Linked DNA regions of Homo sapiens: region 2 is linked to region 1. The links are contacts of gene promoters, found by promoter capture Hi-C in blood cells and fetal thymus (Javierre and others, 2016). All regions are on one chromosome and are shown on one strand. The core of a region is centred on a gene start or on the middle of the fragment in contact, and the rest is flanking DNA. Distances in the headings are between cores, read along the strand shown.

Region 1 (6,159 bases), core at 2,064-4,563:
AGCAGGGCCCCGACGCGTGGAGGGACTGCTGAGGTCCGCGGGGAGAGTTTTGGAGGCGGCTCGGAAGGCTCTCGCCGTACCCGTACCCAACACGGCCCCGGGTCAGGCGCTGTGAGGATTCGGATCTCGACGTCCCTACAGCCCGGAGGGAGGTGGCGGGGACGAGCTGTCGGTGCGGGCCGTAGGGACAGCTGTAGGGCTGTCGGAGCGACGAGGCCCGCACCGGGGGCCGCGCGACCAAGGCGCGGTAAAAAACCAGGAGGGCTACGGCGCGAACTGCTAAGTCCGCACGGGAGCCTGCGGGGGCGGGAGGCCGGGACAGAGTGGCGAGGAAGAGGCCAAGTCTGGAGCAAGACCAGAGATGAGAGAGAAATTATTACATCATTTGGAAACGTTTTCCTAAAGGGTATGCCCCTCACCCATCCCCAAATAAGCAAAGGAATAGTCCAGCTGCCGCCGAAATAAGCTGGATTTAAATCACTTCTTCTAAAATGCCCCTAGAGGGGAGGGCACTAGAGGCACCGAGCTTGGGGACACCTAGACCTGCGTCCCCAAGTGCTCCATTCGTGGTGACTCCATGTGATGAAGAGGCAAACATGTCTGTGTTGAGAGGGAAACCCTTCTAGTTGGCGACTGGAGGGACCCCTGTGGGAGAGCGTTTCTTTTGTCTCCCCTCCTCTAGGGTTTAAGAGCCTACTGTCCCGGAAGGCCCAAGGGTGTGCCCCACAACCCCTCGAGCTTCCCCCCTTCTTAGGCCACTGGGCCCAGTCCCAAGAAAACTAATAGTTGTGTATATGTGGGTGATGGGGACCTATCCCGCGGTCCCAGCACCAACAGCCTAACAGCCAGAGGCCAGATGTGCTGCAAGGGAGGCTACAATCCATTCACATTCCAAGAGGAAATAAAAGCTGGATCCAGAAGTCTTCAGGGAGTGGGCCCCTCAATTTTGGCCGATGCCTCCTCCAACCAAGGTCACGAAACTCGGACAAAGGGAGGACTGACCACCCCCTCTAGATTAGACATTGCCTCCCTGGGCCACCCTGGGGGGGTGGGTGTGGAAGTTCCTTTGTACACCTCAAGTTTTCCACAGTGTGAACCTAGACTCAGCCTTGGCAAACTGTAGCTCTGAAGGTGAGTTCTGGGCATTTTAGCAAAGCGACTCCCTGACGTCGAACATCAAAGTTGTCTCTGAACAGGGAAGGCAAAAAGTGAGACAATCAGAGTGTCACTCATCACAAGAAAGGCCGTCAGAGCAGAGACCATCGTCCTTCATTGGGGTCCCAACAGACAGGTCACCTACGGACCACAGCCATGAAAGCACAGACGTACTGGGTACCAAGGACACTAGTAACACACACACACCCTTCCCCCACTCATGCAGTCTCCTCACTCGCGCAGAGCTACAAGCAGCTTAAGGACTCGGTGCACCTTTGCAGGGTTTCTGTTTCCGTCTTTGCAGGGGCTGAGAACCCACTCTGTCCCTGCCTGTGTGCGGGGTGTGGGGCGTAGTGAATCTCCAATGCCTTCTATGAAAACATCTTAGCGGTAAACTCCCCAAGGCTCAACACAGACGTGGAACTGATTGCCGGCAGTTGACACGAAAACACTCAAAGAATAACTGTAGAATACAGCCAAGAAACAATCTAAATAGGCTTGGATGAAGCTATTCTTTTCTAGTCCCTTCTCAAAAACTTCCCAGGGAAGCCTACGGTACGCCTGCCCTCCGAAGGATCGCCGGACAGAAACCCTGCCATGGAAACCCGAGGCGCAGGAGGGCGCGCTCGTGCGCCCTAGTTTGTAGGTAGTCACCATCCCTGGATGAGCCGGCCCTTACTTAAAGTAAACCCCGAAGATGTAGCTACCGCACCACTAAAGAAGTCGCAGGCGGAAGTACAACCCCTTGGCAAGCGGAGCGAGGAACTCCTTGGTCTCTCCAGGGTGCCCGGGGCGCCCTGCTGAGCGTGCAAGCCACAGGGGCAGGACTCTCCCGGCGCTTGTCGCGCGCGCGCGCGCGCGCGCGCGACGACTGGGCACCTGTTCTGGCCTCTGCACAGATTCCCTCTCGGGGACTCTCGCTCAGGAGTGAAGCACAGAGACGGATTCCCTTCGGGAAAATCTCTGCGCGCGCACACCCATACACACAGAGAGAGACTTGGGGATAAACACGCCGCGAGCTCCGGCTGTCTCGCTAATTTCGGGCGCGGGAAGAAAGCGGGCGGGCAGGCTAGCAAAGCTCCCACACACCCCCGTCTCTACCCCTCCAAACCCGAGCCACCCTGAGCACCTGCCCTCGCGTGCGCAAAGGCTGAACCCGGAATTCACAACTTGCGGTCGCTTCTCCCTCCCCTGCATTCCTAGGCTAGCTGGAATGCGCGAGCAGATTCCCTCACAAGGAGCAGTCAGTTTCCCGCGGCGCACGCGGCGGGCGCCGCGGGCAGTAGCGGCTGGGGACTCACCCGGCACGCACGCCCGGGGCGCGGGCCGCAGGGACTAAGAGTGTGGCCGGGGCTTCTCCGCCGCCAGCCCCAGGGGCGAGAGACGCGCTCTCCAACTTCCCGCCAGCTGGGGTGAAGTTGCACTAGCGGTCCTGCAAGCGCTGACCGTCACGCCGGCGAAAGAAGATTTGTGGGGACCACCCTCGCCCTCAGGCCTGGCCTACAGCTCGTACCCCTGGGTGTCCCCAAACAGCACTCTCCCCAGCGTTCCAAGAAAAGCCTTGGGCTGGAGATGCGGGGTTCGGTACTCGGCTCGCCTCAAGCATGATCCAGGAGGCGTTCACATTCGGCCCCAAACAGCCAAGAGCCTGGCCCCCTCAAACGCACTCTGGCTGGTGCCCCTGCCCTGTGACCGCCTCTGCGCCCCGGCCGCCAGCCCCTCCCGGCCCCTGAGCGGCGTCCGGCCCGCCCCGCAGCGGCTGAGGCTGCTAGCTGTCTTGTTAGAATTAAATCAGCGAGAAAGGGGGGTGTCTTACGTTGCATCGGCACACCTAGCATCTCCGGGAGCCCCTTGACAGCCCCTTCCGCGGGGACAGTCGCACTCTGCATCATCTCGGAGCGAAAGCCAGCGAGTCGCAGTCTACGGAGATCTCTCGCTCTCTCGCTCTAGCTCGATTCAGAAATTTCAAAATAATAATTAAAACCCCAAGCAGGCCGCTGGAGTCACGGTGGAAGCCGGGCCCTCCGCTTCTCAGGGAGGACTCCACAGGCTGGCCGGCCCCCTCCCCCCGCCAGTCCCCAGTCTGTTTCCAGTCCCTTTGATCTCGCTCTCCGGGGTTGGTGCACATCCCAGGTTGAGACGCTGTTGCTGCAGCTCTGGCTTTTTTCCTCTTCCCTCCCCCGCCCGCTCCTTCCCCCTCCCCCTCCACCCTTCGCGTGCCGGCCGCCCGGGAGGCCGCGGTCACCCGGGCGTTTTGATTCATTCACACTGCAGGAGCGGCCGTGACGTCGCTTTCCGCAGGGAGGCCCGCCCTTCGGCACATCCCCCAACCCGGCGGCGGGCAGCCGACCCCGGAGGGAGTGGGGGTCCCGGCGCCCCGAGTGAGGCCGGCGGGGCGGAGGGGGGCGGGGCGGCAGGGAGCGGGGCGGGGCCTCGCAAGCCGGCACCCCCCCCCCCTCCCCGCCTCCGCCTCCGCCTCCGCCCAGCCGTGGCGGGCTCGCGCCCTGGGTATAAATTCTGCTGATGGCCTGCCGCGGCAGCAGGTGGTCGGAGACGGCGGCGCCCTGGGTTTGCGGGTCTTCGTGGGTTCCAAGCCCGCGCGGCTCGTGTCCTCCTCACTCCTCCGTTCGGACCCAGGGGCGGGGCGGAGCCGAGCCGGGGCCGAGCGGGGCAGGCGGTCCGGAGGCCGGGGACGGGGCTGCGTCGCTGTGTCTTCGCCTTGCGCGCTCTCGGTCCCCGGCTTCGCTCCGCCGGACGGAGCGCGCTCCGTAACCGATGACTCCATCTATCTTCCTCCTCCTCTTTCCCCTGGCCAATTCCTTTCCTGCCGGCACTTCCCAGCCCCTGCTCTCTCTCCCCCGCGTCTGGCTGAGGCTGGGCCAAGGGACAGCCCGTACTCGGCCCGGAACGCGCGAGTCACGCGGCGGGCGGCGCCGGCCCGGGCTGGGGAAGGGGACCAGGGGCTGTGCGCGGAGGTGGCGGGACGCAGGCCCCCCGCGCGCGTCCCCGCAGACCGCGGCCTGCAGCCGGAGTCCGCACTTGCCTCCAGTTCCGCAGGGTAGGGGGCCCAAACCTCCCCGCGGCGGGGCCTCCCCGGCCGCCCTGCCACCAGTCGTCCAGCTCGGCCCTGTCTTAGGTCCCTAGAGCCCGCTCTGCCTCTCCGGCTGCCACCGCGGGTGCTTTGAACCATCCGCGACCTCGTGCGTGCAGGGCGGCAGTGAGCACACGGACGCCGGGGTTAACCAGCGAAAGGGCTTGCCATGCTTACTGTATTTACGAGATGCATGGACAGGTAGAGAAACGCTTAAAACAAATTCTCCTCAACGCGAGTTTCTGGCAGAAATACAACAGAAGGCCCAACGCTGGGACGAGGTCTCCTCTGACGCTCCATCAGGCGCTCGACGCCTCCGGGCTGCAGGCGCGGGAAGCCCACCCCGTCTGCCCCAAGACCCAGCCGCTCTCCTGCCCCCAGCCCCCACGGCATTTCCTTCCAGAAATGCAGACATACGTGTCCTTCCAGCCTAGTGGGGTTCAGCTTAGGCGGGAAGGGGGACTGTGTGCCCTCCCCAGCCTTCCAGAACCTTCCCTGCTGTTTCCCCTGGTGTCATCTCCAAACAAGGGACACCTGCTCACCTTTAAGGGAGGAGCATGGGGCGGGGGAGAATGGCCTGGTCGTCTGCGCTGCTTAGAATTTGTCTCCAATGAGGTCACAGTGACTTTTGTGTGTCCTGGTACTGGGTTGGCATCATCTCTTCCCTTGTTTACCTGCGAGGTGACTCCGCGCGCGAGACAATATACACAAGAAGAAAAAAGCAAAAGAACCCAGTGACATTTTTAGTGTTTACCAAAATGTGTTCTATAGAAATATAACTAGTAAGCAAACACGGGGAAACGCCAGCCTCATTTGCAGTGAAAAACACGCAAGACAAAACAACACGTGCACAGCTTTTTCTGTTTGTGAGATGCCCGACGCGCGGGAGGGGCATCCTAGAGTTCAGGACTGGCGAAAGGGGCTTGGACACTCACCAATACTGCTGGGTGCTTATAAACTCTTAACATCCGTTTGGAAAGAAATTTGGCAATATGTATCAAACTCATAAATTTTTCATACCCTTTAGTTTATGTAGTACTTTTGAATGTCTGTTCCACGGAAATAATCTAGAATTTTTTATAAAAGTTTCATGCGTGAAAATGTTTATTACAGTATTATGTTTTGGAGAAAAATAACCTAAATAGCCAACAAAAGAAAAGTGGCTTAGGGAAGTAGATTAAATTGTTTGGTAGTATGTTATGGAATCATGGAAACCAATTATGAAACCCAATAACATGGGGATGCTTGTGAAATACTATTTTTTTTAAAAGCACAATGCAATAGCATAGGATTATAAATATGTAAAAATCTTAGTCAAATGTAAGGGCAATGATAATACCCATTGTTGGTTAGGCTGTGGGGAAATTAGAAAACAATTTCCTAGTGGGGATTGCAAAGAGGGGAAATGTCTTCTCAGGACGTTTTGGCTACAAATGTGATGCATTTGACCCAATCTCTATAGAAATTTATCCAAAGAAAATAATCAAGAATGTTTGTGAAGATGTAGTTACAAGGATGTTTATAAGGTTTTTAAAAGGGAAAACCTAAATATCCAACAATAGGGGATAGTAAATAAGTTACAGTAAATTATTAAGTAAAATGGAATGTTATGAAGTCTTAGAAATAATACAACAGAAGAATATTTAATGTAGAAAAGGGTTTGAGATTTATTAGGAAATGTGAAAAAAGAATATGAAGCGGTATGAACTTCAGGAACTTTTCTTAAAAAAAGCATAAACACTGTACACTTAAAAATGGTAAAGATGGTAAATTATATGTATATTTTACCTCAATAAAAAATTGTTTAGGAGGAGTAAAAAAAATGCCAAAGTGTAAAAGTGGTTATCTGTGCAGTGGATATTTTATTTTATTCTCTTCGCTTTTTTCAGTTTTCTCAATGAGCACATTATTTT
Region 2 (6,159 bases), core at 1,899-4,398, 260 kb before region 1:
TTTCTGTATTACAGTATTAGATAATAGTTGTTTTATGCAGTAAGCCAAAGTAGGCTGTATGTAATGTTTGATTCTGTTTGATTGTTTTTGTTTGCTTTGGCAAAGAATGTTAAATTTTGCTATTCCATATAGATGCAAATATTTTCCAACCTATGGTTACTGAATATACATAATACATTTGAAAAGGAAAAGTTTCCCAGACATTTCTTTGAAAAATAAGTTCTTGATTTTCCTTCCCTCATTTAGGTCAAAGTTGGAAATTGTAATACTCCTAAACCAAGCTTCTTTGATTTTGAAGGAAAGCAAAAATGGTAAGAAATTCCTGGAATCTTTAATGAGGTTGTTGGAAATGGCTTAGGTGTTTAGGAATTAGAAAGCAGTGAGCTGATTAAAGAATTATTTTTATATTAATCTCTCTCTCTGCTGTAGATTGTACTAATGACAGGCAATTGGGAGAGATTAAAGAAATCTACTTTTAGCTAAGTCTCCTGAAGGATTCTTATGCTAGCATGTTGGAATATAAGTGGTTCACAACAGACATACATGCCTTACATTTTAATACCATGAGAGCTATTGCTTGAGATTTTCCTTTCCTGTCATTCAACCCCTAATGGATCACCACTTCTCCCCTCTGGAGGGATTTTTGGAAGAAGGCCAGAATGATGGGAAGGGCAGAAGAGCAGGATAAATCCCCATTTTTCACCCATCTTCCTTGTCCCAGTTTTATCTCCCTGTCTCTTGCTACTTACTCTTGTGTTCCTTGCCCCACCCATGCCACAGTAAATAACTGCTTATAGTACTCTTGGGAAGAAGGGAAAAATTCAGTGAAAAGCCAAAACCAGATACTAACTTCTCTTTTTCTCTGAATATATAAAAAAAAGAGTATACTTTTGCAAACTTTTTTAACTTATAATTCAGAAGTTCCCCCTTGTCATTTATGAGACCTTATCTTCTCTTACCTTGTCTAAGTGAAAGAAGAGAAATTGCATACAACTGGGAATCTTAGTTATAGAAGGGAAGGCTTTGGAGCATCAGCCCTGGAATTAAGGTTAGAAGGTAGAGTTAGAAAAGAAAAAAGATAAAATATGGTTATAGAGAGAGGAAGTGATAAAATATGGGTTCTTACTTTACATTCTAGAGCAGTCCCACATAAAATCTGGTCCCCTGGATACATTTCCTGCCTGCCAACTGTTTGTTACCCAACTGTTAGGAGATACAGAGCTTGAACCCAGATATAAATCACGTATGTCACTAACCACGCTGTTTAGTTCAGCTGATTTTTTTTTGTATAGGACAGTCTCAGTGAAGGAAGCAGTGCATTGATTATATTCTTGCACAAGTTTTTTGGTTGATGATAACCAGCCAACATATTATTACTGTTCTAAAGAATACCTGATGTTAACGTTGACAGTGAGTTTTTTGTTATAATTTATGAAATTTTATACCTTTATTTTTTTCTGTGCTTTGCCTGTTTCTCCATTGTTTTTAGCAATTAAAAAATTTAGATTTTATAGCCACCATAATAATAGTTTATGCAAGAACATCAACGAATGATTAAATATTAGATGATAAAATATTGGGGAACTGTTAGAGAAAAACTATTGAGGAAAATTTTTGTTAAAATGCTAGGTGAAAAACTATTGGGGAGCAAAACCGTGGGTTACAGGCTGACCCACCATTTACTTTTTAATTATGAGAGAGAAACCTGACAGTTACTGCCGTTACCAAACCATGAATCTTATTGATGATGGGACAGACTAACATCACGTGCCCCCAGTGTGATGCATTGAAAAGGGCATGTCACCTATATATTACTCTGCTGAAATAATTTAACCCAATTCTAATCATGATTAATCATTTTTGGCAAGAACACTGTAGGTAAGGAAACAATTAGACAAATTCAAATTGAGGGATATGTTATAAAACAGTTGGACTCTTAAAAAATACCAACAATGTGGAAGACAAAAAAGCTGAAGATACATGAAACTCAATGCTGTGTGTGGATCTTGATTGGTTCCTGGTGTGGGAGAAGAAAGCCATAAAGGACATTATTGGGACAATCAGGAAAATCTGAATGTATAGCCTCTATATTGTATAATAGTAATTGATGATAAATTTCCTGAGTTTGTGTAAGCTGATCTATTTAGGGATGAAGTGTTATGATGCGTATAAGTAATTCTTAAGGAATTCAGTGAAAATAAATTTAGAAAACCTCAGAAAGATATTATATTCATCATAGAAGCAGGAAGGTAGTGAAAAAATGTGGGATTGAGTTCTGTTTGACAGCAAATCAGGGAAATCGAGAAACACTGGTTGGAATTTAGAAAGAATTGGCAGGGAAAAACCAAGAAGAAGGCCTGTCCTGGCAGCCTGTTGTGGGGGCAGGGGGGTAGATGACCCAAAAGGAAGCTCAGGACTAAAATGTTGCTTTTGCCATTTATATTGTAGGAAGTCCCTAACTTACTCATTAGTATTCTTTAGTTGCTGTTGTTGTTTTTTTTTTTTTTTTTTTTTTTTTTTTTTTGAGACAGAATTTTGCTCTGTTGCCCAGGCTGGAGTGTGGTGGTGCCATCTCAGCTTACTGCAACCTCTGCCTCCCAGGTTCAAGCAATTCTCCTGCCTCGGCCTCCAGAGTAGCTGGACTACAGGCGCACACCACCACGCCTGGCTAATTTTTGTATCTTTAGTAGAGATGGGGTTTCACCATGTTGGCCAGGCTGGTCTCAAACTCCTGACCTCAGGTGGTCCACCTGCCTCAGCCTCCCAAAGTGCTGGGATTACAGGCGTGAGCCACCAAGCCTGGCCAGTATTCTTATTTCTGCCCTCACCATCCCTTACTTTTGAAGTCCCAGACTAAGTCCCCAGGATCAGTTACTAGAAGCTTATAGATGAGATAACAGCAGAAAGGGAAGGTGGATTTCTTGTATCTTAGTAAGAAGTTTGATGCATTTTCCTTGGGAATATTGTTTTTTATGTGATGATTAGTTTCTGTACGACCAAAATGCCATAAGCACAGTTAATTTATGAGAATAATCTCTATTAGTCTGTAGATCATATATCCTCAATAGGGGTGAAATTTTGTTTGAGGAAATTATAAAATCTTAGATTACAGTGGTTTGTGGTCTTTCAAAATTTAATAGCTATGCATTGTATCTGTGTTTTTAAAATTTCACGGGGAGGACGATTAGGAAAAAAAATGTCTGAAAAGACTGCTTAGGTAGGGCAATAAGGTCTGTATAGCTCTAGACCAATGTAAATGCAAAAAGACAGAGCTTCTCTATCCATAGCTTATTATCTCTATATTCAGAGACCCTTGAAATGTGCATACAGTTTTTTTAATAATAAGAAAAATGCTGTTTGTGTTATTTGCATAATGACAGGCCATTTTGGATATTCCATATTGTAGGGAAGCTTGGAAAGCACTTGGTGATTCAAGCCCCAGCCAAGCAATGCAGGAATATATCGCAGTAGTTAAAAAACTAGATCCAGGTTGGAATCCTCAGGTAAGACTTAATGATTATAAATAATACTTTCCAAAAACTTATGATCCTTCTCTGAAATAAATGTCTAAAACTAAACTTAGTTTTAAGTAACATGCTTAAAGTTTTACTTTCTTGAAATATTTTAAAGTTATTGTAATATTTATCTAATAAAATAATTGCTGGCCAGGTGTGGTGGCTCATACCTGTAATCCCAGCACTCTGGGAGGCCAAGCCAGGTGGTTCACCTGAGGTAAGAGTTCAAGACCGGCCTGGCCAGCATGGTGAAATCTCATCTCTACTAAAAATACAAAAATTAGCTGGACGTGGTGGTACACACCTGTAATCCCAGCTACTCAGGAAGCTGAGGCAGGGGAATCAATTGAACCTGGGAGGCTGAGGCTGCAGTGAGCCAAAATCAGGCCACTGCACTCCAGCCTGGGTGACAGTGTGAGACTCCATCTCAGAAAAATGAAAAAAATTAATAATAATTACTTAAATAGTAATATAACCAGCTACTGATGCTGAGAACTTCTCTGAGTTGCAGAGTTTTTGAAAGCAGAAAAATTTGAATTACATAAGAATTGGAAAGAGTTTAACTTGAGATTATCATGCTGGAAAAAAGGTTACTCTTGGATTTCGTTTTTATGATCACTTTCTATGCAAGGGCAAAATGCTTATTAGGGATAAAAGATGAATAAGACATGATTTCTGCCATTATGTAGTTTAAAGTGTAATAGAGAAGATAAAACATATCAAAATATATATCTTTAATAGTATAAAACAATAATAATGTAAATGCTAGGGAATCCAGCAGGAAAAGGGATTGCTTTGGACTTTGGAAGCATTGGATATTGTTCACTTAAATATACCCTGTTTTTCTCATATACTTATTGGAGAACATCTAGAAAGAATTTAATAAAGGTGAGGTTACTATTTAAGAATATTGTTAAATGATTAACAGGTATTTCAGTGAGATAGAGGTTGCATTGTACCATGTAAAAAATGCAAATTGAATTTTTTTCAATAAAAATATTAAGGCCAAACATTTTAGCAGTTAATGAATTAAACAATTTTCAGTGTTTTTGTAATAATTACATAATTTCATGTGTACATAGTTGTTACTGGTATGAAGGAATTTGTTCCATTAATCATGGAATCTTAAAAATCTCAGACTTGTTAGGAACTTTAAAAGATTATATATTATGACATATTAAAAATGTATCTTAAGAGTACAAAGTGGGAGTGATAACCAACTTTGGATATCTTTAATGATATGACTGCCTTTTAGAAGTCATTGAAAAATGTCCTTTTTTTTTTTTTTTTTTTTTATATGAGACAGAGTCTCACTCTATCACTCAGACTGGAGCACAGTAGTAGGATCTTGGCTCAACGTAACCTCCACCTCCCAGGTTCAAGTGATTCTCCCACTTCAGCCTCTGGGACTATAGGTGCACACCACTACACCTGGCTAATTTTTAAATTTTTTTTCTTTTTTTTTTTTTTTGAGACAGAGTCTCACTCTGTCGCCCAGGCTGGAGTGCAGTGGCGCAATCTCGGCTCACTGTAAGCTCTGCCTCCTGGGTTCCCGCCATTCTCCTGCCTCAGCCGCCTGAGTAGCTGGGACTACAGGCGTCCACCACCACACCCGGTTAATTTTTTTATTTTTATTTTTATCTTTAGTAGAGACGGGGTTTCACCGTGTTAGCCAAGTTGGTCTCGATCTCCTGACCTCGTGATCTGCCCGCCTCGGCCTCCCAAAGTGCTGGGATTACAGGGGTGAGCCACTGCGCCTGGCCTCTTTTTTTTTTTTGTAGAGATAGGGTTTTGCCATGTTGGCCAGGCTGATCTTGAACTCCTGATCTCATGTGATCCACCCGCTTCGGCCTCCCAAAGTGCTGGGATTATAGGCATGAGAAATTTCCTTATGTTTCTGATGTGCATGAGTCTTCATTTTCAGAAATTTTCTATTTTATTATCTTTTATAAGACACCAAATATGCATACAAATATGTTTCTCAAGGTTCTGAGGGCTTAAAATCTGAAAATCAGTGCTCAAAACAGGTGCCCCCTGAGCTGAACTCAGCCTGAACAACTGTTGCACAATGTTTAGAAATGAAACAAAACTTGAATGTGAGTGCCTTTAGGCAGAGTATTTTTCAGGTCCAGTCACTGTGTTCTCATCCTTCCCTGTTGATTTATACTACACTATTGGTGATGCTTGGCCTATGAAGGCATTTTAGTTTATAAATTCTGATAAAAGACAGAATTTATGATTTCTTACCTTCAGTACTTTAGTAAAATTTTGTTAACTATTACTCTTAAAATGCTTGCAGGCCAAGCACAGTGGCTCACGCCTGTAATCCCAACACTTTGGGAGGCTGAGGCGGGTGGATCACCTGAGGTCAGGAGTTCGAGTCCAGCCTGACCAACATGGTGAAATCCCGTCTCTACTAAAAAAATGCAAAAATTAGCCAGCAATGGTGGCAAGTGCCTGTAGTCCCAGCTATGCGGGAGCCTGAGGCAGGAGAATCGCTTGAACCCGGGAGGCAGAGGTTGCAGTGAGCCGAGGTTGTGCCATTGCACTCCAGCCTGGGCGACAGAGCAAGACTCCATCTCAAAAAAAAAAACGACTTGCAGATTCCAAACAGGTGTTGAGGATGGTTTTTAAAAATGTCTAA

What was found. The method cuts DNA at HindIII sites, captures the fragments that hold promoters and counts their contacts. A CHiCAGO score of 5 or more calls a contact.
Region 2: a fragment that was not itself captured here is called in contact with the fragment with the promoter of LHX4 in region 1 in 6 of 17 cell types (M1 macrophages, erythroblasts, endothelial precursors and 3 more); the score reaches 8.7 in M1 macrophages.

What each region holds. Positions count from the first base shown.
Region 1 is chr1:180,227,418-180,233,576 of GRCh38, reverse strand. It overlaps LHX4 (LIM homeobox 4), which reads right to left and starts at 3,313. Exons shown (of 6, transcript NM_033343.4): 1 at 2,972-3,313. The coding sequence starts at 3,047. RefSeq lists a silencer at 3,743-3,872. The HindIII fragment of the contact is 8,200 bases long and covers 1-6,159 here.
Region 2 is chr1:180,489,613-180,495,771 of GRCh38, reverse strand. ACBD6 (acyl-CoA binding domain containing 6) reads left to right here. Exons shown (of 8, transcript NM_032360.4): 2 at 247-311; 3 at 3,407-3,503. Among named protein-coding and RNA genes, the nearest start is that of ACBD6, 9.9 kb to the left of the region's middle. The HindIII fragment of the contact is 530 bases long and covers 2,884-3,413 here.